6 separate regions of the Homo sapiens genome follow, and regions 1, 3, 4, 5 and 6 are each linked to region 2. Evidence: promoter capture Hi-C in 16 types of primary human blood cells and fetal thymus (Javierre and others, 2016). All regions are on one chromosome and are shown on one strand. The core of a region is centred on a gene start or on the middle of the fragment in contact, and the rest is flanking DNA. Distances in the headings are between cores, read along the strand shown.

Evidence for each region. The method cuts DNA at HindIII sites, captures the fragments that hold promoters and counts their contacts. A CHiCAGO score of 5 or more calls a contact.
Region 1: a contact is called between a fragment that was not itself captured here and the fragment with the promoter of RPL37A in region 2, in 1 of 17 cell types (total CD4 T cells). The highest score is 5.3, in total CD4 T cells.
Region 3: a fragment that was not itself captured here is called in contact with the fragment with the promoter of RPL37A in region 2 in 1 of 17 cell types (activated CD4 T cells); the score reaches 5.4 in activated CD4 T cells.
Region 4: a contact is called between a fragment that was not itself captured here and the fragment with the promoter of RPL37A in region 2, in 3 of 17 cell types (fetal thymus, naive CD4 T cells and M1 macrophages). The highest score is 8.7, in fetal thymus.
Region 5: a contact is called between a fragment that was not itself captured here and the fragment with the promoter of RPL37A in region 2, in 1 of 17 cell types (total CD4 T cells). The highest score is 5.8, in total CD4 T cells.
Region 6: a fragment that was not itself captured here is called in contact with the fragment with the promoter of RPL37A in region 2 in 1 of 17 cell types (fetal thymus); the score reaches 5.8 in fetal thymus.

The regions. Positions count from the first base shown.
Region 1 is chr2:217,772,276-217,775,703 of GRCh38, forward strand. All of the region lies in intron 2 of DIRC3 (disrupted in renal carcinoma 3), which reads right to left. Among named protein-coding and RNA genes, the nearest start is that of DIRC3, 16 kb to the right of the region's middle. The HindIII fragment of the contact is 656 bases long and covers 1,541-2,196 here.
Region 2 is chr2:216,497,564-216,500,693 of GRCh38, forward strand. It overlaps RPL37A (ribosomal protein L37a), which reads left to right and starts at 1,281. Exons shown (of 4, transcript NM_000998.5): 1 at 1,281-1,314; 2 at 1,707-1,835; 3 at 2,386-2,468. The coding sequence starts at 1,312. It overlaps RPL37A-DT (RPL37A divergent transcript), which reads right to left and starts at 1,189. Exons shown (of 4, transcript NR_183317.1): 1 at 1,044-1,189. RefSeq lists enhancers at 698-787, 968-1,357. The HindIII fragment of the contact is 3,327 bases long and covers 105-3,130 here.
Region 3 is chr2:218,221,708-218,224,848 of GRCh38, forward strand. The region is part of intron 2 of ARPC2 (actin related protein 2/3 complex subunit 2); the gene reads left to right. Among named protein-coding and RNA genes, the nearest start is that of ARPC2, 6.1 kb to the left of the region's middle. RefSeq lists a silencer at 1,113-1,162. The HindIII fragment of the contact is 2,321 bases long and covers 697-3,017 here.
Region 4 is chr2:217,752,711-217,756,104 of GRCh38, forward strand. All of the region lies in intron 2 of DIRC3 (disrupted in renal carcinoma 3), which reads right to left. Among named protein-coding and RNA genes, the nearest start is that of DIRC3, 36 kb to the right of the region's middle. The HindIII fragment of the contact is 679 bases long and covers 1,220-1,898 here.
Region 5 is chr2:217,717,902-217,721,017 of GRCh38, forward strand. The region is part of intron 2 of DIRC3 (disrupted in renal carcinoma 3); the gene reads right to left. Among named protein-coding and RNA genes, the nearest start is that of DIRC3, 71 kb to the right of the region's middle. The HindIII fragment of the contact is 7,326 bases long and covers 1-3,116 here.
Region 6 is chr2:217,508,444-217,511,707 of GRCh38, forward strand. The region is part of intron 2 of DIRC3 (disrupted in renal carcinoma 3); the gene reads right to left. Among named protein-coding and RNA genes, the nearest start is that of DIRC3-AS1, 230 kb to the left of the region's middle. RefSeq lists a silencer at 2,423-2,512. The HindIII fragment of the contact is 547 bases long and covers 1,053-1,599 here.

The DNA.
Region 1 (3,428 bases), core at 619-3,118, 1.3 Mb after region 2:
TTCTACTGCTTGTGCTGTTTCCTGCTGGCATCCTGTGGAATTGCTGGCTTTTCTGTGGCAACATTAACAGAGGTCCAAGTATCTAGCCACAAGCTTCAGGACTGCTGAGGCAGGGATTGGAGCACCCATCCTGCTGGTCATTTCAGAGCAGCTCTGCATGATTCCAGAGACAGTAGCCATGATGACTTCCTCGTCAAAATAACTCCCTATTCACAGATTGGCATTGTGATTTTTGAGATAGCAGCTCCCTGACTGCGGAAGAGTCACAGGGACTATTTCTGAAATGGTTTCTAAAATCTCAACCTAGAGTCTCTTTTTTCAGTCCTCCTGATAATGTTGAAATCTACTTAATAAATTCCTCTGTCTTGGTCAGTTGGGTGTGCTATAATGAAATACCATAGACTGGGTAGCTTATAACAACAGAAATTTATTTCTCACAGCTCTGGAGGCTAGGAAGTTCAAGATCAAGGCACCAGTAGATTCAGTGTATGGGGAGGGCCCACTTCTTGGTTCACAGACAGTGCCTTCTTCCTGTGTCCTCACATGGTGAAAGGGGCAAGGTAGCTCTCTGGGGCCTCTTTTTGTAAGGGTGCTAAACCCATTAATGAGGGCTCTACCCTCATGACCTAGTCACCACCTGATATGGTTTGGGTTGTATTCCCACCCAAATCTCATGTCAAATTATAATCCCCAATGTTGAAGGAGGAACCTCGTGGGAGTTGATTGGATCATGGGGGCAGATTTCCCCCTTGCTATTCTCTTTGATAGTGAGTGAGTTCTTATGAGATCTGTTTTTTTAAAAGTGTGTAGCACCTCCCTCTTTGCTGTCTTCCTCCTGCTCCAGCCACATAAGACATGCCTGCTCCCCTTCACCTTCCACCATTTGTAAGTTTCCTGAGGCCTCCCCAGCCATGCTTTCTGTACAGCCTGTGGAACTGAATCAATTAAGCCTCTTTTCATTATAAATTATCTAGTTTCAGGTATTTCTTTATAGCAGTGCAAGAACTGACTAATACACCACCCAAAGCCCTCTCCTCCTAGTATCATCCCACTGGGGATTAGATTGCAACCTAGGTATATTGGGAAGACACATTCGGACCGTAACATCTTTCTTCTCAAACTAGCTAGAGTGGGTTTTGCTCTGTACCAAAATCTGGACCATGCAGTTTTGTTCATGTGAACCTGGATATTGATTTTCAGCTTTTAGAATCAACCTATAAATAAATCACCAAAGAGAATATAAAGGCTATTAATTTGACAGTATAAGAGTGATAAAGACTGCTAGTTTTTAACCAAAATTATTTTCCTCTTTTTCCTGGGCACTTGAGTGGACTATATTTCCCAAACTCCCTTGCAATAAAATGTATCCATGTAACTCAGTTCTAGCCAATGAAATGAGAGAGAAGTGACAAGTGCCACTTCCAGGCCTGGTCCATAAACCTCTCCCATGTACCCTGGTCCATGCTCTTTGCCCTTTCCAGCTTGGCAAAAGGCAGATGCTTACCATGGAAACTGCATTGATTTTTGGTTGTATTCATAAAGCTTCCATCAGACTAAATCAATGAATGGCTTGCCAGTGCTGTTTTGTGAGCAATCAGTAAAGTTTTATTGTGTTTGAAACTTGTTTCAGCACCTATTAATAGCCTAATGAATACAGTTTAAGTAAAAGCACACATTAAAAAACATGAATATGAACAGGGAGAGAATAGGTAAAGGAAATGAACCTGAATAGCCTCAAATGTACAAAATGGGGACTCAAGATATATTTTTATAATTTGTGTGCAAGAAATAAAAATATGTTTATATAAAGTTCCTAAAGCAGTAGGTGAAAGGAAGAGCTTAAGTGAGTTAATTCTCATCTGTCACAGCAGGAAATGGCTGGATAATCTCTAAAACTGATCATTAAGGAACAGAAATGTATCATAGAAAAGAGAATCACAAGCAAACAAGACTTTAAAATAGAAAGTTAAAATTCCATCTGAATAATGCGCCTGGGATGAGGAAGCTCCAGATCAGCTTAGTGGGCATGAGATCTGTGCTGCTGCATAGGGCCCTGAACTTAAAGGGCTCCATGTCTAGTTCAATGTTCTGCTATCGACGTTGTGAAATTCTTAATGACTTTGCCTTTGAACTTGTGTTGTCTAAATGAAATCCAGTGGACCAATAGAGCCTGCTTGTGAGCAGATATGCTAAATAAGCTTGTTGGCTAATCCTTGCTGCTTTATGCACATGGAGCTGTTGGCAATGCCACATGAGCACATAATCCAGTGGATGCACAATACTTGAGAATCAAAGGGAGTGCAGGTAAGTGTATAACATCCATGACTAGGCAAACAGGGCACTGATAGCCCTTGTAGGCCAGGCTTTCTATTTGAACCAGAACCTGCTGTGAACTCAGAAAAAGGGAAATGGTGTTCCAAATGACACAAACAACCAAGGAATCCTATCATATTCTTTTTTACTCATGTTATTTTCCTTTGTGAGCCAACCATTTGGGCTAAAAATGATGGCATAGAAGGAAAGGGAGAAGTAGGAAAATCCATTGTTCTTTTTCCTTTTAGTCCTTCCTTACTCATTAGTAAGCTTAAGATAGACATCGTTGGTAGAATGTGTGCATATCAAGAACTAAACTAACACCACTATCATTAGGAAAATGCAAACCAAAACCACAATAAGGTATCATCTCACTCCAGTTAGAATGGCTATTACAAAAAAGACAAGAAATAACAAATGCTGGCAAGAATGCAGGGAAAATGGAACTCATCCATTTTGGTGGGTGGGGATGTAAATTAGTACAGCCATTATGGAAAACAGTTTGAAGGTTTTTCAAAAAATTGAAAATAGAACAGTGACACAAAACAGCAATCCCACTACTGGGTATTTAACCAAAAGAGAGGAAATCAGTATATCAAAGGGATACATGGACCCCCATGTTTATTGCAGCACTATTCAAAGAGCCAAGATATGGAATCATCCTAAGTATTCTTCAAAGGATGCACAGATAAAGAAAATGTGGTGTCTGTATACACAATGGAATACTATTCAGTCATTAAAAATGATGAAATAGTGTCATTTTCAGCAACGTGGATAGAATGGAGGTCATTATGTTAAGTGAAAAAAGCCAGACACAGAAAGACAAATATTGCATGTTCTTACTGATATGTGGAAGCTAAAACATTGATCTCATGGAAGTAGGAAGTAGAATGATAGTTACCAGAGGCTGGGAAAGGTGGGAGTAGAAGAAGAAAAGATGTTATTTAATGGGTACAAACATATCATTACATGGAAGAAATAGGTTATAATTTGATGGCACAGACAGCTAACTATAGTTAATAATAATTTATTGCATATTTCAAAACAGCTAGAAGAGAAGATTTGAAATGTTCCCAACAAAAGAAATAAATGTTTGGGGTGTTGGATATCCTAAA
Region 2 (3,130 bases), core at 31-2,530:
GGCTCAAATGATCTTCCCACCTCAGCCCAGGTATGCAAGTTGACTTTAATACAATTGTGAGGAAAAGTGAACAGGTGCAAAATTATTTGAGACAGTTAATATTAAGCTTTGGGAACGGAAGCTACTTGTTACCGGACTTCTGATTGGAATCAGGGCCACACAATGCCTTTCAGCTCCCATGGTCTTTCTTGGCCCTCTAATCATGGATTCTCTCTTACACTCTTATTCCAGTAGTTTTCTGAGCTTCTTATTCTCTGGATTAGCCATCCCCTGAAAAAAGGCAACCAAACTTCCTAGTGTGTGTGTTCTACGTGAAGAAAGAAGATCATGTGTCTAGTTCCAGAACACACCCTCCCCACCCCCGGCCTCAACCAGAAATCCAATTCTTCCCTGCTGACCCCTTTGAGAGACCTGGAGGGACAGAGAATTGACGGTGGGTAAAGGGTAAGATGTTGGAGTTTAAGGGTTCAGGCCTGGACCAGGAAGCTGTCTTAACAGCCTAGTGTGGGGCCATGGAAGTGAGTTCTGAAATGAAGTGGAAGGCAGGCCATCCGCACTGAGATGCAGCAGCTGGAACACAAAACTCCAAGGTGACTGTTAACTTTTCCCCAGCCTTCCAATCTCAGACTTTCCTCAGGAAACACCAGGCTCTTCTGAATTAGTCGCGAGCAGAACCATCGTCCTTTCCTTCAGAACTCTGACCAGTTTGAAACTGTCTAACTTCTTAATGTGGCTATATGATCGTTTGCAGCTGGCCTGCAACTTGTTCTGGGAATGGAACCTTGGATTTTAGTCACCACTGTCGCTAGCATCCTGCACAGTCAGCCACTTTTAGAGAGCATAATGCAGAGGGGGAAATAAATGAGATTTGGAATAGAGACGGGGTTTCACCCTGCTGGCCAGGCTGGTCTCGAACTCCTGACCCACCCCGCCTCCCAAAGTGTTAGAATCACAAGCGTGAGCCACCGCGCCCGGCCCCACAAATGTAAGATTTATGCACTTCTCCAAGCCAAGTGCTGTGCATCGAATGGAGGAACTCGTACCTTTGCAGGATTTTGTGATATATGTGAAATAATCCGGACATGCTTCTGCTATGGTTGTTTGTCGCCATAGTTTGCGAATCTGGGTAAACCTGGATGAGAGAGACGCCTTACAATTGCAAACATTTCTCAGGAGGCCGCCTGAAAACGCCCAAACCATAGAGCTCAGTTCCTAGCTAGGCCTCTACCAGCCACTTCCGCTCGTCCGCCTAATACCGCGCCTGCGCACCGCGTCTCTTCCTTTCTGGGCTCGGACCTAGGTCGCGGCGACATGGTGAGTGTGGGTCTCTGTGCGGCCTAGAACTCTATCTGCCTGCATCTGTCCTTGTTTTCTTCTCCCGCACCCATCTCCTCTCCTGCCTTACCCCGTGTTCTCTCCTGTCTCCATGCCTTTGCAGGAGACACCATTGTCGGAAGCTCCCCAAGGCGGAGGGGCGGGGGCGCCTTGGCTGGGCCTGGCGCGCTCCAGCCGGGTTAACGCCGGGCCTTCGGAGCGCGCGGCCAGCCCTGGGCACTGGTTTCGTTGGGTTGAATTTAGGGAAAACTAGGTCATATGTAATTCACATGTCGGTCACACGTCAGTGAGGTGGAGGAACGGTGTGTGGAGGCTCCAGGGCCTGCCTGGGTTCCAGGTCTATCACTGGTTTCTCCCTTCACTCTAAACAGGCCAAACGTACCAAGAAAGTCGGGATCGTCGGTAAATACGGGACCCGCTATGGGGCCTCCCTCCGGAAAATGGTGAAGAAAATTGAAATCAGCCAGCACGCCAAGTACACTTGCTCTTTCTGTGGCAAAGTAAGTAAGGCAAAGTCTCTGGTGAGAGGAGAGGGAGGGCAGGTTTCTTACCCAAGTGAGGCCTGACTTCAAGGTATTTTATAAGCCGTGTGCTGGTGGGCAGTTGGAATTACTCATACCGTTGATTATGAGTTTTAAGATAAAAGTGTTGATGGTAACTTCAGATTTTGTGAGACGTTTTTCATTTAAAGAAAACCGCTTAAACGTTAATGGGTAAAATAATCATTTGACAGAGTGCCCCCAGCCTAAGCCAAACCTGCTTTGTGGGAAATGATTCCATCAGTTTTGTCTACTGATGTTTCTGCACCAACTCCCAAGATGTCTGTGCATCTAATACCATTCTACTTGTTCTGCGAGGGATTTTTGTTTGATAAAGGTTTGAACGTTTATGTGCAAAATACTGCATTACAGCAATCCCTGTTTTGTTTTTGAGGGAGAAAGGGAGGCTTTCACATCCCTGACAATAAGGTGAATCCAAATTTAGACTTCTGGATGCTTGTAAGAGAAAATACTTACTTGGTTCATAGTGAAAATTGGTTCTCTTTTATAGACCAAGATGAAGAGACGAGCTGTGGGGATCTGGCACTGTGGTTCCTGCATGAAGACAGTGGCTGGCGGTGCCTGGACGTACAAGTGAGTCTAGTTCCTTGTGGTATTTGGAAGTGTGTGGACCACATAGGCCCAAATTCCAGGTTGCTGCTGGATGGGCTAGTTTTAACACTTTCTCAGGACTGAGAGAATAAGGATGCCTTTGTATTTTCAGGATTCTTCCGTGGTGGTTTATTTTCAGTTATTGAAAGAGTAAACACAAAACTACCAAAATAGAAGTCGGAAATCTAATTCACAGACTACTTTAGAATTTGATGGTCACTGGGCACATTGTTGTGAACATTGTCATGATACTGTGCAGGTCCATTAGTGGGGCTGAATCTACTGAACGTTGATTTGCACTGCAAGTTTTGATAAAAATAGGTGAAGGGGTCAGTTAGTTCAAAACTGTATTTGGAACTTGAGGCCATCAGGACCACCACAGTTTCGTCTTTCTGAACAGTATTAGACTGCTGCAGGTTTGTGAATCTGCAACTCAGTATCACCTGACAGGGCGATACTACAAACACTATACTACAAACTAGCATCTAGACCTGTGTTGTCCAATACACTAAGCACATATATGGCTAGTGTAATTAAAGAATTGGATTTTAAAGTTTCAGTCAATTTAAACTTAAACCGAAGCAGTGGAAAATGTTGAAATATATATATATTCCTTGTGGGGGTTTTTATTAGGGCAGAATGGA
Region 3 (3,141 bases), core at 607-3,106, 1.7 Mb after region 2:
TTTAGGAGCTGACATTTTTGTGACATTGAGTAAATCAGCTTTTAGGTCTCTGTTCTCCATATTTTGATATATGGCTTAGTGGAGAATAGGACCACCTCTTACCTAATATGATCTATTTTTTTAGGCTTTGCTCAAAAAGAATGATGGGAGCTTTATAGAAGATTTAAAGGAGAATGCTCAGAAACCTTTATAGTGAGCAGAATTCAGTAATTCCTCTAATTCAGGACATAAGAAGGGATAAGTAGGAGAGAGACATAAATGCCCAAATGGGGAATTGGGGCCAGGCACCCTGGCTCACGCCTGTAATCCCAGCACTTTGGGAGGCCAAGGAGGGCGGATCACTTGAGGTCAGGAGTTTGAGACCAGCCTGGCCAACATGACAAAACATATGTCTACTAAAAATACAAAAATTAGCCAGGTGTGGTGGCGCACACCTGTAATCCCAGCTACTCAGGAAGCTGAGGCTGGAGAATCACTTGAACCCAGGAGGCGGAGGTTGCAGTGAGCAGAGGTGGCACCACTGCACTCCAGCCTGGGTGACAGAGCGAGACCCCATCTCAAGAAAAAAGAAAAAAATGGGGAATTGGATCCTAGGGTGCATTCAGGAGTAAAAACCCCAAAGTTGTTAATGAGAAAAGAAGATGAGATAATACAGTTGCCAGAAGCCCTTTCTGGATTGATTATTGACATTCTAGAAGCTTCCTTAGAGAAAAGATAGAAGAAAATTTTTTCTAAAGGGTTTTAAGAATAGCTCTTAAAACCTGTCTGAATGAATTGATTATGTTTTAGTGTCTTGGGTTGTCCAGGCAGTAACTCTGAGGACTTACCCAGCCGGCTTGTTCTAGGATTCCAGACATTACAGCAGTCTGACACTTATAGGAGTTCTGTTTTTCCTTGTACTGCTAACCAATTCCTGATTCAGGGAATTACCGCAATCCTAAAACCTCTCCCAACCACAGCTTCAGAGTCCGATCTCTGACTCCACCTAGGAGAAGAACTAATTTATTGATTACCTTCTATGAGCTAGGCACTGTGCTATATGCCTTAACATGGTTTCATTTCATTTCTGTGACAGATAGTGGATCTCATTTACAACTGAGAAAACCAGGGCTCTTGAGGATTGGGGGTGGGGGTAGATATTGAATAAGTAACTACTACATATTAAGTAAGCACCGTGCAGGCATCCTTCACTGTGATTCTTGACCTTGTTTATCGTATGGCACACAGAACATGATTGTATTTGTATGGCACATTTGGGTAAATGGTCTAGCCTCTCAGAGATCCTGCCACCTGCTGCCTGCCCTAAGGGATATGGGGATCATTACCTCAGCATATCTATAACTTAAAAGACACCGTTTGAGAAACTTTGCTGTACAGTAGTCCCCCCTTATCTGTGGTTTTGCTTTCTGCAGTTTCAGTTACCTGCAGTGAGCAGTGAACCATGGTCTGAAAATATTAAATGGAAAATCCCAGAAATAAACAATCCATTAATTTTAAATTGTGCACCATTCTGAGTAGCATAATGAAATCTTGCGCTGTCCCGCCCAGGACATGAATCATCTTTTTGTCTAGCATATCTACAGTGTGTACGCTACCCTCTGTTAGTCGCTTAATAGCTGTCTAGGTTATCAGATTGACTGTCACAGCATTGTAGTGCTTGTGTTCAAGTTACCCTTATTTTACTTAATAATGGCTCCAAAGTACAGGAGTAATGATGCTGGCAATTTGGATATGCCAAAGAGAACCCATGAAGTGATTCCTTTAAGTAAAAAAAGTGACCTTGGTGTTTCTTTGCTACAGTTCAGTGCTATCCACACTTTTATTTATCCACTGGGTGTCTTGGAACATATCCCCCACAGATAAGGGGAGACTGCTGTACTGCTGGACATATATCATCTCAGTCTTCACACCAACCTGGGAGGTAGATGTTTTGTCCCCATTTTGTAGAAGAGGAACCTGAGGCCCGGTGACATTTGAGGAGCATTGCCTGTGGTCACATAGCCAATAAATTCTGAATTCTAAATAACTTGCTTTTTCTCACCCCCAGCATCTGAAATTTTAGCAGCTGGTAGAACAGTAAATAATGTAACTATTAATTCTGGGGGCCTATTTAGTGGAACACTTTTCCTGGGCCAGTCTTCCTCCCGCTCCTTTGTAATTTTAAACCACAGAAGTAAAATAACAAACGCCAGGTCTTGGAATTGAGAAGCAATCTTGTGATGGTATACTTCACGCTCAGCAAACTCATCGTTAAGGCACTGAGTTCTCGGACCTCTAACTCCCAGAAGACTTCCCATGAAGTCTCCTTTGGCCTAATACTCTCCTCAGCAGCCATTCTCTCTCTTCTAGCCATAAATAGTAAACTAAAATATTAATGAATGTGATTTGACAAATATTGCTAAGTCAGACAGCAGACCACTTAAGATCGATCGTAGCAACTTTTCCCACAAGGATCTGTGCTCAGGATACTTTATGCCTAGAGAAATTTGAAATTAGAGACTCAAAGTGTGTATGACTTGGAGCCCAAAGGTTATTTATTTATAGTTGGTTTTTCTCAGGTCTTTTGACAAAGTAGGAGAGTGAGGAACTCAGCCCTTCTTTGGCTGAATTAAAACCTAAAGGTTAAAAAAAAACTTACTAAGTGATGTAATAATGGGCTTTTATAAACTCCCTGACTCTTCAGCACAGTCAGCCTTCCCCAGGAAAGTATGCTTCCATGCTTCCTCCCATTGGTCATCCTCTTAATATTTCATTCAGTTGGTCCATGATTAACATTTCCATATTTTTGTTCTTTGCTCTTGTTTTCTAGAGGTGAGGAATGGTATTGGACTCGTTGCCTTTGTTTCCTGGCTACAGTTTCAAAATGAAGGCTCAGAAGCAATTTAAATTTTCATCTAGTTTTTTCCTTCTATTCTGAACTCTCTGCTTCTCCGTAAACCCACTTGATACTTCAATTCGTAGAGATACCCAGTGCGCTTTTCCTAAGTCACATATAGGGCTTTGAAGAAGCAAGGTGAAGCTTTGTATGATTCGTATAGGTTGATTTTTCAGCAGGGCTAGCATGCTTCATAGAAGCCAGTTTTTTTGAAAGGTATTGTCTGGCTTCTATATCAGCTTTTTAACACTCATAAACCATGTTAT
Region 4 (3,394 bases), core at 309-2,808, 1.3 Mb after region 2:
GCTCCTCATGGGCAGCTCCTCATGGGCAGCTCCTCATGGGCAGCTCCTCATGGGCAGCTCCTCATGGGCAGCTTGGCCTGAGTGAGGAGGACCCCCGAGTCCACCTGGGAAATCTCGGCCACCTGCTGGAGGGGGCAGCTTTAGGGCTTCAGGGCTAAAGAAGTAGGATAACTAGGGCCAGGATTGTAGGGAGAAGGGAGCGCATGCTCAGTGACAGACCCAGGCTGAGTGTGAACGACCCAATCCCCTCCACACAGCCCTTTTCCCCAAATCACTCACATGCCTGCCCCCATCAGCCCTGAACACCCAACCCCAGCCTGCACAGAAGACCTGCAGCCTGGAAGCAGGCAGGCTCGGAGCCCTGCAAGGGTTGGGGGTTGGCTCTGTCCATCTTTGGATCCCCACCCCCAGCCCTGTCCAAGACATTTGTCCTCAAAGGAGCTTTATTTGGTCTTCTCTCCATTTTTGTGCAAGCCTAGTGAGAAGCCATGGCCAGCAAGAGGAAGCAACAGCCACCTGCTTGGAACTCATTTGAGAGGGGCTGAAATAGGCCACCTGTTCCCAGGCTTCCCTCCCACGCAGTAGGTCACAGAGTCTGGCCACTAGGAGAAGGTCCGAGAATGTTAAGGTTTGAAGAGACCTAAGAGCCTAACCTTCCAGCGGAAGCCTCTGTCCCTCCAGGCTGGGGCAAAGAGGGCTGACCCCAGGTGGCAGCACGCGGGTCACATTTGATTCACATGATTTGGCCTCTGGTGAGCCTAAGCGCTGTGGAGCAAGGGGTGGGAGTTCCCACTCAGGAGTAAGACTGCCGGGATCTAAATCCCGGTTCTGCCACTTCCTATCTGAAAAACACATGCCTCAGTTTCCTTCTCTATGAAACACAGCCCCATCGCCAGGCTGAGTGCAGACTCTTTGGGGCAGATCCTTCACCAGCCCATTTTGCAGATGAGGAAACTGAGGTGAATGAGCCGGCACTGTGACCCCACGTGCTTCATTCTAAGCATAGAGATCTTGCCGCTTCAGCAAGCCAACTTCCTTCCCCAGGGAAGGCTGGGAAACAGTAACTGGAGAAGGGGGCAGGAGGGTCTCTGCCTGGGTGCAAGGCTCAAGGCTGGCCAGTCCTGCCATTCTTCTTGCCTCTGGTTTTTCCGAATTCTGCCTCTCCCTCTGGAAAGCCATTGCAGGCAGGGCACTCCCAAGCCTCGTTTACAAAATTATAAGCTTCCTTTGTCCCCAGTCTCCTCTGGTTACAATAACACTCATCAGCTCTCCAGAGCTTTCAGGGGCATGGAAAATGTGACTTCACTCCTCAAGGATTTCTGATTTAACAAAATGGCATTGGGGAAAGAAAATGAAAAAGAATGTCTCTGTCCATCCCTGATAGAAAAGGCAATAGGGCTCCAGCCTCCCAGCCCAGAGTCAAGAGCCAAGAGCTCCCAGAGGGTCCAGAAGGCACAGACAGGGGACCCTCAATCCCCCTTGGACCCCACAGACTGGAAATCAGCCTCTCTGGGTGGGGCCTAAGGGGAAAAGGGAGGGAAAGGGTCACTGAAGACAGGTGCCAAAGGCAGGAAATAAATACATCCTGTCTTGCCATTCCCCAATTTGACAACTTTATTATTCCTGTCCTTCTTTATTCAGTCAGTCCATCAGTCACTTGTCCTAAGTGCTTAAAATGAGTGACTCTGGTGTCCAACCACCTGGGATAGTATTCTGGCTCTGCCATCTTTCCAAGCCTCAGTTTTCTCATCTGCAAAATAGAGACAATGTAGTCTGGACTTTATAGAGCTGCTGTGAAAACTAATGAGATACCATGCTAAGGGCTTCACACCATGCCAGCAGATCAGAAGCTCTCAAGACATGGTAGCTCTTGGTGCTGTCACTCATGGGAATTGCAAAGCTTTGTCAAGCAGAGCAATGTGTCTGAGGCTGGACTGTTGGGAGTACCCATCTCATGGCACCTGCAGTCTAGAGACCCAGCCCTGGAGGCTCCTAGCTGGCCCATTACTTTAAGTCCTGAACACCAGGGCTAGTCTAATAGGTAGACTGGCAGGGTAAGGAGAAGGGCTTAGTGAGTGCTTGCTGCATACAAGACGCTGTGCAGGTGCTAAGGAAAATTCAGAAATAGCAACTATAAATCAAACTCCACGATTTCAGGTATATGAGAAATATAATTTTCAAAAAAATTATTTAAGTCAAGTTAAATCCATCTCTGAGCCCCCATCCCACCTGAGACAGCAAATTTTGTCCTGGTCATTAATGGAACCCGCCCATCCTCTCTCTCACCAGCATCACTGGAAGGGGTGCATGCGTGGTCACTGGCCATTTGTCCCCACTGGTTACACTGAGATAACTGATGCAAGGCCACACAGTACCCAGGAGCCCAGGGGCTCTGCTGCTTCTGTGCCAAACAGTGCCAGAGAAAGCTAGTCACAGACACATCACACTGTCAGCCCACTCTGAGGTCCTGCCCACCCTGGGCATTGACAGGGAAAAGGGTGCTCTGCCTCCGGGACTCTTCCCTCAAAGGCACTCACATCTCAAAGAACTCAGGCTCCCAGAAAGGAAGAAAAAAGAAAAGAAAGCAATTCCTACTCCCTGGCCTGCAGCAGCAAGTCTCCCAAAGCAGGGATCTCAAAGGAGCAGGCTGTTTACATGGGGGGAGTTGGGGGCAGTAGAGACAAAAATATAAGGATAACAGAAAATGAATCGTCGTATCTCAGAGACGGCCCCTCTAAAGAGGTGACTTCCAGGGGCTCCCAACAAGACACCTGCACCCCCTCCACCTTCTACCCCTACCCCATCACCCGCAGGCAGAGGAAGCAGCAAACCACATAGTGACATTTCAGGACTAACAAAAAGCCCTCCAGGAAGTAAATCAATCTCCCCCAAGCTTCCTGAACACCTACACTCTCCTTCATCTAAGGCAGATGTCCTGAAGAGGTCTCTGCTGAAAGGGATCAGTTGACTTATCACTGTCACCTTGCTGAGGCCAGGGCAACAGGGAAGATAAGTGTTGACTGGGAAGCAATACTTATCCAAGAAAGAAATGGGTATTTAATACCTACTAGGTACCACCAGGTGATTTCACAAACAACCTACCTGTTCATCACAACCACGCAAAATGAGTGCTTCATTCCCCGTTATTGATGAGGAAACAAAGGTCCTGAGAGAGGGGCCAAGGTCACAGAGCTGTATTATGACAAAGCTGGGAACACTCAGCCAATATTTAATAATAATACTATCACTTAGGGTACTATTATCATTCCCATTTTACAGAAGAGACTCTGAGGCACAGCAATTAAATTACCTGTAAGGGCCAAGAAGGGTGCCCCTGAGGCCTGGGCTGTTGATCCCCTCATTTTTCTGCCTCTGCATGAGAAGCAACTGGTTG
Region 5 (3,116 bases), core at 108-2,607, 1.2 Mb after region 2:
ACGGTAGCTATTAGGCTGCGAGGCCTGAAGCAGGGTTACATTTTGCGCCTGTGTGAATTTAGTGTTCCTGGGAGTTGAGAGGCCAGAGTGGGTTGGAGCCACCGAGAGGCTGTTATTATGGCCTGGCATGAGCCTGCCGTTAGCTTCTTGAGACCCTGAGGCCATTTCACCACACTCCAGAATTGCAACCCCCTTGAATTTCCAAACCAGGGACCCTGGGCAGCAATCCCCCCACCACACACACACACACATGCACACACACAAACACACACACACACACACACACACACACACACACACAGAGTCATGCTTCTTCTTTCTCTATTCTGTCTGTCTCTGATTTATTTTTCTTTCTGTCTCTTTCTCCTCACTCTATGGTTTTTCTCTCTCTTTCACTCTTCCCCTCTATCCGTTTCTTGCTTCCTCCCTTCTTTCTTCCTCCCTTCTTCTCCTCTCTCTGCCACTCTCCTAGTTCATAAGCTCACAGCAGCAGACCTAAAGCTGGACAATGACCAGCATCACCTTCACCTGCCCAACCACCAGCAGTAGCCTTTCTCCTTCTCCAGCCCAACCCCAGCCCAGTCTCTCCCTTTGGTCTCCATCCAGCCCATTCCTTCACAGTTCTGGGTCCCAACAGGAACATTTGTTATGTATACGTAACTCTAAGGCTTTGAGGAGGCTGGAGGGGTTTAGCAATGAGCTTTTTGTTTCTTTTGTTCCCCTCTGTTTGCCCCCTCATAGACGCCCATGATAACCAGCGCTCAGCCTCTTGTTTTCTGCGTTGCTGGCTTCAGCTCACATGAGGGAAACTGAAGATCCAAAGATAGCGGGAGTACTCTACATCAATACATCAAAGGAAAGGTGCCCAAATGCAGGACTCCTCCATAGCTTAAGGCACAAAACTTCTCCTCCGTAGGCCCAGAATGGAAGAACATGGGTTTGAAGCCTCCAGTTGTGGGTGGCACTTGAAGGAATTTGGAGCAATGACAGAAGACTGTGTGATTTCCTCTTGAGAGGAGAAGTGGGCCAGGAAACAGTGGTAAGACACTGCTTTATAAATGGCTTAAAATATCCTCATTCAAATAGTTCTTCAGAACATGTTGCTTGGCTCAATGTTTATGGGTGAATAAATGAGTGAGTAAACAAATAAGTGAATAAATGAATGACTAGAAGGCAATTACGTTCCCTTTCCTAGAGATTCCTAGGAATGAAAATCATACTAAATCTGGATGATCTCTCCTTAAAGTAAGGGAATGCATAAGGTGACATCAGCAGGGCTCTCCAACAGGAGGAAGTAGCAATCCTCCAGTAGGTCCCCTCCCCTGGTGGCACCCAATTCCTTTGTGTATTAGTCTCCACTAATGATCTCAATTGACCTTCCCACCAATAAAGCATTGGAGATGAGGAAGCTGTGACGTTATGAGGATGAAGGCATTTCCAACTCTTTCACAGTTTTCATCCAATAGCACAACATCTTCTCTTGTCCTTCATCTCAGCCAGGACCATGAGAGGCTCCCAGGTGACCCCACATGGAACAGTAATGCAGATGCCTAATGCTTTTGTCCTTCTTATTTTGTCTACCTTGCCAGGTGTAAGGGCACTTTCTGACTGGGGAGGAAATATGAAAGTTCAGCTCCTTTGCATCTAGTTGGGACAAACTCTGAAGCATAATTTGCATTCTATCATGCCTCTGCAGGATCAAGGTAAAGTTTATCCTCCATGAGTTTATAACAGAAATTTCATGCTTGCTTGACTTCTTCCCCTTTTCTTTCCTGCATGCCCCACTCTCTTTCAAGTTTCTCCTAGGATCATTTTGTTAAAAAATCACTTGTGCACTAATAGTCATCTCAAGGTCTACTTCTGGAAAACTGATCTTAAATAACAGAGTGCTCAAACTAAAATGCCTACTAGAGTCTGTTGTGAGGAGGTATAGAAACCTCACACTCTACCCATCTTAGTTTGTTTCATGCTTCTATAGCAATACCATACACTGGGTAATTTATAATGAACAGAAATTTATTTAGCTTGTGGCTAAGTCCAAGGTCAAGGAGCCACATCTGATGAGGGCCTTCTTGCTGCATGATAACATGATGGAAGGCATGACATGTGTGTGAGAGACAGAGAGAAGGAAGCTAAATTCATCCTTTTTTAAGAAACCCATTCCCAAGGTAACAATCAATTGATGAGGGCCCTGCCTCTAATCATCTCTTAAAAGTCCCACCTCTCAACACTGCTGCACTGGGGATTAGGTTTCCAGCACATGAACCCTTGGGGAACACATTCAACTCACAGTGGCATCCAAAGACAGCAGCCGCTCCCAGTGGGAATGGCAGCCATACTGCAAGATAGCCTGACTTTTTAAAAATGTTTAACAGAATCCATGGTTTCACATATCTCTCCATTTTTAAGTGTGAAAAACATCTGAGATCTTTTTTAACACACTGTTCAAGCTGAGCAGAACACATCCACAGATGGGATTCATATTCCGACTACTAGATTTCAATCTCTGCATTGGTGGTTCAGATTCTAGTGAAGAAATGATTGGAGGTGACTTCCAACACCACCCAATCAAAAACTACCAAGTATTGAAAAGGGCAGAAACATGACCCATGGTATCATGACAAATCAATTAACCAAAACCAACTTGAAACCTACACGGATGTTAGAATTATCAGACAAGGAAATAGAAACAGTTATTATAATTATATCTGTATATGTTCAAAAAGTTAAGTAGAAGATATTTTAAAAGATCCAAGTCAGACTTCTACAGATGAAAACTAAAATGTCTGAGATGAAAAATACACTGACTAGAATAAATGGGAGATCAGACATTACAGAAGAAACTTGAAGACTCAGCAATATGAGCTAGCCATGAGGATACATAAAGATAAAAAGACATTATAGAAAAACTAACAGAGTATCACTGAGCTATGGGACAACTTCAAGCAACCAAATATATGTGTAATTGCAGTCATCAAATTTGAGATGCAAGGGAGAACAGAAAAATTATTTGAAGAAATACTGGTTAAATTTTTTTCCAAGTTTAATGAAAACTATATACCCACAAACCCGGAAAACACAATGAATGCCAAGCAAAAGAATATGAGGAATATCAC
Region 6 (3,264 bases), core at 76-2,575, 1.0 Mb after region 2:
TTAGTTCTTTTTTTACTCTTTTGTATTACATTAATTTCCTCTTTTATCCTTATTATTTCCTGCTTTATACTTTCTTTTTATTTACTTTGTAATTTTTCTCGGTTTTTAAGTTGGGAATAAAATTTATTTATTGTAATTATTTTTTATTGATTCAAATATTTAATCCCACAGATTATCCTCAGATCACTGCTTTATTTCTCATTAAATCAGATGTGCATATTTTTATTCTATTATTGTTTTTTGAAATTCTGCAATTTTAGTTTGTATATCCTTTTTCACCCAATAGTCATCTAACAGATGTTAATTTCCAAGTAGAAGAACGTTTTTAAATTTTCTCATTAATTTCTACTTCATGGAACTCACTCAAAAACTTTCTTTGTGACTACAATGGGCTGAATGCTTATGTCCCCCTAAAATTCACATTGAATTGAAATCCTAATTCCCAAGGTGGTGGCATTAGGAGGTGGGGCCTTTGGGAGGTGATCAGGCCATCAGATATCTACCCTTATAAGTGGGATTAGTGCCCTTATAAAAGAGACCCCAGAGAGCTAGCTAGTCCCTGTCACTATGTGAGGACACAGCAAGAAGGTGTTGTCTATGAATGAGGAGGTAGGTCTTCAACAGACACCAAATCTGCTGGCACCTTGATCTTAGACTTCTTAGTCTCTAAAACTGTGAGAAGTAAACTTTTGTTGTTTCTAAGCCACCCAGTCTCTGATATTCTGCTATAGCAGCCTAGAGGAAGACAGTTACTCAACATGAGGTCAATTTCTGTGAACATTCTATTTGTGCTTAAGAAGAGAGTATATTCCCAATATTAGCAAGAGTGGAGGTTTCATATATATCTATAATGTCTACCTTATGAATTATGTTGATTAGATTTGAGTGTCTTTATTTTACGGTTTCCATTTGTCTGGAATACCTCTTTATTCTTAGTCTTTCTGAATCACTTTATTGTAGGTGTGTCTCAAATGTATCTCACAGAATTGAGTTTTGCTGTATGAGTCAATTTGAAAATATTTTTAATTGGGGATTTATGTAATTTATTAATAAGCTTATCAATAAATTATAATATAATAAATATAATTTAGTAATATGACTGATGTACATGGTCTCAACTTGTATTCTGTGTAAAATTATGTATATAATTTTTCTTTCTCAGTGTGGTTTATTTCATGTGATATTTATTTTTTGATATCTAGGAAGATTAATATCTTTGTTGCAGTGCTTACCTTTTTGCCACTACCTATTATAATGCCCTTAGTCTCTTTTCTCACATTTACTCTGCTACTTAGTGTTTTATTTGCTTCAAATTATATTCTTCATTCCCACCTATTGTCTATGCAACAATAGGTCACTTCAGTTTTGTCACCACATATAACAGTTGAACTGTTCTTCCCCCCATGACTCTGTCCTTGTTTAAGTTACAGATTTACATTGAAATATATTCAATGCTCACACAGTCCATTTTCCAGAGTTCTTCAGGTCCAGGTCCTATCTTGGTTAAATGATGTTTTTTCTATAGTAGGACCATTAAAGTTGGATAGTGATTGCAGTGTTCTCTGGGGTTCTGCACATAGAAAATCGCTTGATACTTGAAGCTTAGCTCATCTACATAAAAGCTATTCCACAGTTCCTTTAGTTTCCTGAAGATGTGACTGTGTTATTCTTTTACTTTAGATGAGAAGTCCGATTTTCTTTCCTATGTAAGTGATTTGATACTTTTGCCTGGAGATCTAGAAAAATTTTTTCTTTATCTTTAAATTACAATATTTTCCTAGTATATGTCTTGGACTTCACCATTCCAGGTTTATTTTCCCAGGGATACTGAGGAGCCTTTAAAGATGCAGATTCAAGTTTTCTTTTAATTTCAGACATTTCTCTTAGTCTGTGGTTTTAAATACTAGTGGTTTTCTATTGTAATGGCCTTCTTCTATCAATTATTTTCTCTCTGATCTCTTTTGCTTTGTTCCTTATTTTATTTTTATTCCCTTTTTTCATGGCTTTCCTCACTGTTTCATATTTTCAGTCAAATCTCTTTTTCCATGGGTACTTTATAACTTGGCCTTTATTTTTAAGATGATTTTGTCTTTTCCTTCCATATCTTTCCTGAGTTCACTCAATTCTTATTTCGCATTTTCCTGAAAAATAGGGTTTTTCACAAAATAATAGGGTTTTTTGGTCGTATTTCTTTTATAAAGCTTAAAACTTCTGATTTAAGGTTTTTGTTTTCTATCTTCACATGCTTGTTTTAGGATATTCAATTCAGTGTGGGTGTTCTGTTACAGTTTTCTTCCACCTCATATTTGATTTCGGTAGAAGCATTTTCATCTGCTGGAATGTTTTAATTCCTGTTTTTTTTTTTTAAGTTATTGGCCTTGTATGAGTGTCGTCTGCCATTTTCTATTCATTTTTAGATGTTTAAATATACAGTTGTAGATAGGCGCAGTCATGGCGTTTGATGACTGACCATGTTTCTTAGTTCAAGAGCACCCTCTTCTGTTGGCATGGGAAAGTGTAGTTTCTTCACTGACAGCAGCTTTTGTGGGGGAGGGGTTGGTGTGCCTTCTGAGCTTTGAGATCCACTTTTGCTTGGTAGGACACTCTTTCTTCGTTCTTCCCCTCCACTCAGACGCCTCTGAAGCCCTGCTGCCAAGCGGCCCCCTCTCCTCCAGAAATAGTGCCCTTTCCACAGGCCAGCCCAGCCCCATGGGCAGTCAAACCCTCCCTTTCATTCGCATCCTGAAGCAGCGCCCTCAGGCTACCTGGCCTGTGAGTTGTTCAAGCTATTTCTCAGTCAGGTGCGAAGTTCTCTTTCTGGAGGTTATTTTGTCTGTGGTTTTGGACACTAATGCCCCCAGGCACCGTTCTCCTTTTCCAAACAATCTTCAGGCTGAGTCTTTGCTCCAGCACTTGCTCTGGAGACCACCTTGAGCCTGGGAGTTTACTCCCTTATCTGTAGGTAATTTGAAGTTTGGAGTATTCTATCTCAGTTATATTGTGTGTGTATATTGTATGTTTTATTGTATGTGTGTATATGTATTTGTGTGTGTGCATATATGTATATATAGACAGAGAGAGGGAGAATCTGGAATCTGGAAGTTAAGTTATAGACTCAGGAAATTCTTAAAGCTGTTTTGAATATAAGATAAACTACAGTTTAGGATTACCAATAAAGCTTCACTAGACTCAGGTCTCCCAGCTTCCAGGCCAGTTTTCCTACTAACACCCCATACGCTCTTGGACAAGTCGTTTAACTTCTCT